2 separate regions of the Homo sapiens genome follow, and region 2 is linked to region 1. The links are contacts of gene promoters, found by promoter capture Hi-C in human tissues and cell types (Jung and others, 2019). All regions are on one chromosome and are shown on one strand. The core of a region is centred on a gene start or on the middle of the fragment in contact, and the rest is flanking DNA. Distances in the headings are between cores, read along the strand shown.

Region 1 (2,700 bases), core at 123-2,622:
TAGGTCCTATATAGCCATAAAGGCCAAATTCAAGTGCCAATTCCACTATGATGGTTTTGATGGCTTCACTACCTACACCAGCTCTTGTTACTTCTCTTCATTGTACAGACTGTAGATTCATTCATTTGGTTTCGTACATATATCTTATCATATTCCTCACTTTTTGTAAGCGTCTCCCCTTGAATCCTATGCTTTTTAAACTTCTTGAGGACAGGGGCAATTTCTTCCTTATTTTTGTCTAATTAGACCCATGAACACTGTAGATACTCAAGAAAGGTAATTAATTAGGTGGGAGGATCCTGCCAGTGCATCTTCTATTTCTAGGGGCCAGAATACGAGCACATGAACCTAACATGATCTAGACAAGATTTAGAGATGCAGTTGAAGATACTGACAAATATTGGAACAATCTACCACAAAGGTGATACTGAGTCACTATTTTTGCAGAGCTTTGTTACTAGTTTGCCTTAAATAATTCAGAGTTTGTCCTGAGGGTAGGGAGTGGATAACAGTGAATTTAATCTTTTAAATTTCCTTCAAGTTTTATGATCGTGACACGGGGGCAACAGGAGAAGAGAAAAAGTTTGGAAACCAAACACAAATGTTTTCAGATTCCTGCTAGGTATGTAAATGGCTAAGTCAATGCCGGTAGGGGTACTCATTCAGAAACACCCAGTGCCACTCTGTACGGGCCACTAAATTGGGCACTGCGGATATAAAGGTTCATTCCTCGCTTACTGTACCCACAGCTGCCAAGAAATGACCACTACAAAACAGTCGTTATAACTGAGGGAACAAAGCGCCAAAGCAGCAACAAAAAGGGGTTCTTGCTGCTTCGCGGGATAGGGGGCTGAGCAGCCTCACAAAGGCGACGTCCTCGCAGTCTGAAGAGGAGTGGGCAAGGCGGACGAGGGTGGGGCTCAAGCGTCCGTCCGGTAAAAGTGAGCTGGAAGAACCGAGGCCCAGCGTGAGGAGGAACCGCGAACTACTTGCAGAAGGGCGAACGTCTGCTGCTGAAGGTGGAGAGGGAGTACCAATGTACGAGGCTTTATAGAAATGGCCGTTTGGTAAAGGGCAGTGACTCTGGAGCTTTTTCTCTAGGGATCCCGCCCGTCCTCCCCGGTTGAGCCTCGGCCCCAACAGCCCAGTGCCTCACCCAAGTGCCCCGAGTCCTGCTTCCGCCTCCGCTGCAGCCTCTCCCGCAGAGAGTCCAGCTGCTTCTTGTGGGCCTGGATAGAGCTCCACGTGTCCGACATCCTAGTCTCCCAGCCCTGACACCTCTCGAATAAGGCGCGGCGGACTAGCACCTCCCAGCACTCGCTCCAGGATATAGCCAATTCTCACGCGGACACCCCGAAGGCTAACCGGAAAATGACCCCTGGAGCTGAGCAAGACAGAAAAGTCATTTCCGGTGTCGCGCTTTCTTGGAAGCTATAAAGAGCCACGTTAGGTGTTGGCAGAGCGGCCGGTATAGTCCTCATACCCGCTCTCTCATGCTTCCGGACACAGTGAGGCTGTGGTTGCCATGTTGGTGACTGGCAGAGCGGCCATGTTGCTTATAGACGCGCATGCGGCCATGTTGAATATTCGGAGAGGAGTCCTGAGAGTTGACTTGTGTTAAAGTAGCACTCGTAGAGAGCAACACCATATAGTACAGTTTTGGGGGTTTTTTTCTTTTTTTTTTTTTTGAGACGGAGTTTCACTCTGTCGCCCTGGCTGGAGTGCAATGGCGCGATCTCGGCTCACAGCAACCTCCACCTCCCGGGTTCAAGTGATTATCCTGCCGCAGCCTCCCGAGTAGCTGGTATTACAGGCGCCCGCCACCACGCCCGGCAGATTTTTTGTATTTTTAGTAGAGACGGGGTTTCACTGTGTTGGCCAGGCCAGTCTCGAACTCCTCACCTCGTGATCCGCCCTCCTTGGCCTCCCAAAGTGCTAGGATTACAGGCGTGAGCCACCACACCCGGCCATAGTACAGATTTTTAAGATGAAGGATCACTAGTTCCTTTTGACAGTTTGGTACTAACATACCTTTTCCACTGAAGGTGGTGTTGGTTTGTTTCCATGCGTTCATTTACAAAAAAATAAAAAACACAACGGTGGTCCCCAATCTGAGGTGAGGAGGGGGCGGTGGTGGGTGCGGGCATGCTTCTTTGTGTTGACGAGGCGTGGGGAAGTGGGGAGGGCTGATGAAGGAAAAATCCGAGAGGTCTTCAAATACGTGATCTCTCTCTTAGGCTAAATTTACAAAGTACGTGTAATCTATTAAAATCGGGTTCCGACACTAAGAGGGCTTTGAGGTCCTGGTTGCGTTGTGTTTTTTGTTATGAGAGCTACCTGCATGAGTGTGTTCAGTTTGTGAAATGTAATTGAGCTGAACATTTTGGTGTGCACTTTTCTGTATGTGTAGTAAACTTAAATACAAGGTTGGTGGTGGTGGTTTTTCCTACAATCCTTTCTTTCTTTCTTTTTTTGACACATTTTCTTTTTTTTTTTTTTTTGAGATGGAGTCTCACTCACTCTGTCACCCAGGCTGGAGTGCAATGGCGTGGTCTCAGCTCACTGCAACCTCCGCCTCCTGGGTTCAAGCGATTCTCCTGCCTCAGCCTCCCGAATAGCTGGGATTACAGGCGCGTGCCACCACACCTGGCTAATTTTTTTTATTTTTAGTAGAGACAGGGTTTCACTATGTTGGCCAGG
Region 2 (2,700 bases), core at 151-2,650, 440 kb before region 1:
CCAGCCCTCCACTTCCTGAGGAGGCGCTGGGTACCCGGAGTCCTGGGGATGGGCACAATGCCCCTGTGGAAGGACCTGAGGGCGAGTATGTGGAGCTGTTAGAGGTGACGCTGCCCGTGAGGGGGAGCCCAACAGATGCTGAAGGCTCCCCAGGCCTCTCCAGAGTCCGGACGGTACCCACCCGCAAGGGCGCTGGAGGGAAGGGCCGCCACCGGAGACACCGGGCGTGGATGCACCAGAAGGGCCTGGGGCCTCGGGGCCAGGATGGAGCACGCCCACCCGGCGAGGGGAGCAGCACCGGAGCCTCCCCTGAGTCTCCCCCAGGAGCTGAGGCTGTCCCAGAGGCAGCAGTCTTGGAGGTGTCTGAGCCCCCAGCAGAGGCTGTGGGAGAAGCCTCCGGATCTTGCCCCCTGAGGCCAGGGGAGCTTAGAGGAGGAGGAGGAGGAGGCCAGGGGGCTGAAGGACCACCTGGTACCCCTCGGAGAACAGGCAAAGGAAACAGAAGAAAGAAGCGAGCTGCAGGTCGAGGGGCTCTTAGCCGAGGAGGGGACAGTGCCCCACTGAGCCCTGGGGACAAGGAAGATGCCAGCCACCAAGAAGCCCTTGGCAATCTGCCCTCACCAAGTGAGCACAAGCTTCCAGAATGCCACCTGGTTAAGGAGGAATATGAAGGCTCAGGGAAGCCAGAATCTGAGCCAAAAGAGCTCAAAACAGCAGGCGAGAAAGAGCCTCAGCTCTCTGAAGCCTGTGGGCCTACAGAAGAGGGGGCCGGAGAGAGAGAGCTGGAGGGGCCAGGCCTGCTGTGTATGGCAGGTGAGATGACACGGAGTGAGGCTCATGGGGCAAGGGCCAAAGCAGGTCGGGCCTATGGGAGGGGGCAGGAGGAGGAGCAGGGTTAGGCTGGGAGCAGAACAACCAGAACCATCTTAACTTCAGTCCCATGTTTCTGTCTGTGTCTGTGCAGGACACACAGGCCCAGAAGGCCCCCTGTCTGACACTCCAACACCTCCGCTGGAGACTGTGCAGGAAGGAAAAGGGGACAACATTCCAGAAGAGGCCCTTGCAGTCTCCGTCTCTGATCACCCTGATGTAGCTTGGGACTTGATGGCATCTGGATTCCTCATCCTGACGGGTCAGTGGGCATCAGTGGGTGAAGGGAAACAGGACTGGGAAAGAGAAGCAATTGGGTGGGCTTGGGGACTGGGGGAGGCAGGGTGGAAAGGAGGTAGGCATGGACTGCTCCCAGCCAGGACAGCCTGGCCATTTTGTGTCTTCAGGAGGGGTGGACCAGAGTGGGCGAGCTCTGCTGACCATTACCCCACCGTGCCCTCCTGAGGAGCCCCCACCCTCCCGAGACACGCTGAACACAACTCTTCATTACCTCCACTCACTGCTCAGGTAACCGAGGCCCAGTCCTGGCACCCTGGACACTAACCTCCTGATTCATGAGGACCCTCACCTCCTTCTTCTCAGGACACTGACCTTCTGACCTCTAAGGACACCTACTTCTTCAACCTTCAGACTTCAAGCCATTGACCTTTGGCCTTACTTACCCTGACCTCCAGCTTCATATCTTCACTGATCTTCAAAAGCAACACTGTTGACTTTCACTCTCTTCCAACCCTACCAAGATCATCAGGACATTGGTTCACTGATTCAACAAACATTTATTGAGCACTGAGTACCTATTAGGCACCATACTACAGGCTGATATTGAATGCACGCCATTTCAGAACAGAATTCTTAATTTTCCAGACCTTAATCCCTTGACCTAGTAGCCATATGAATATAGACCCCTGACTGCTAGGTGACTTCCTCTTGTACACACACCCCAGAATTTGGCCCTTTGCCCATTTCTTCCCAAATGTACCGGCAACTAATTTCTCCTCAGGACTATTAACTAAAAACAGACCCCGTATGTCTGCCTTGCCTTATCTGCTATCCCCCAAAACACACACACAGCAGCCTCCTTGGCTCTTCCTGCTCCCGCAGGCCTGATCTACAGACACTGGGGCTGTCCGTCCTGCTGGACCTTCGTCAGGCACCTCCACTGCCTCCAGCACTCATTCCTGCCTTGAGCCAACTTCAGGTAACCACCCCTCAAACAGGCAGTTCCCCTGGATCCTAACTCTTCACCAGTGGCCAGTCCAGGACACCCGATTGCCCAGTTTAGGGTTATTCTTTTCTGCCCTTAGGACTCAGGAGATCCTCCCCTTGTTCAGCGGCTGCTGATTCTCATTCATGATGACCTTCCAACTGAACTCTGTGGATTTCAGGTTTGAGCCCTTCATTCCCATCTAGTTTCCCATCAGTAGTGGGGAGAGGAGAAGAGGCTGGCTGGAGCCCCAGGCTGGTTTCTGAGTCCTTGGGTGCCCAGGAAGAAACCCCCTGCCTTACCCTCTACAGGGTGCTGAGGTGCTGTCAGAGAATGATCTGAAAAGAGTGGCCAAGCCAGAGGAGCTGCAGTGGGAGTTAGGAGGTCACAGGGACCCCTCTCCCAGTCACTGGGTAGAGATACACCAGGTAAGCTTCCCCTCTACCACCTAGCATGCTGGGAGCCAGGAATAACCCAGCTGAAGACATTCTAGGAGAGAGGCCATGTCCAGGACATACCATGAGGTTGCAAAAAAGTGGTTTCCATTCCATTCAATTCAACAAGTATTTATGGCTCCCAAATCATGAGGAAAACATGTGCACTGT

What was found. Contacts are between HindIII fragments. The study calls those that stand out against the background at their distance.
Region 2: a contact is called between a fragment that was not itself captured here and the fragment with the promoter of METTL3 in region 1, in 1 of the 25 tissues and cell types used here (aorta).

The regions. Positions count from the first base shown.
Region 1 is chr14:21,509,968-21,512,667 of GRCh38, forward strand. METTL3 (methyltransferase 3, N6-adenosine-methyltransferase complex catalytic subunit) reads right to left here and starts at 1,373. Exons shown (of 11, transcript NM_019852.5): 1 at 1,157-1,373. The coding sequence starts at 1,256. RefSeq lists an enhancer at 1,416-1,655. The HindIII fragment of the contact is 21,601 bases long and covers 1-2,700 here.
Region 2 is chr14:21,074,368-21,077,067 of GRCh38, forward strand. It overlaps ARHGEF40 (Rho guanine nucleotide exchange factor 40), which reads left to right. Exons shown (of 24, transcript NM_018071.5): 3 at 1-813; 4 at 965-1,132; 5 at 1,278-1,398; 6 at 1,993-2,089; 7 at 2,196-2,276; 8 at 2,407-2,523. Among named protein-coding and RNA genes, the nearest start is that of ARHGEF40, 5.4 kb to the left of the region's middle. The HindIII fragment of the contact is 3,154 bases long and covers 1-2,700 here.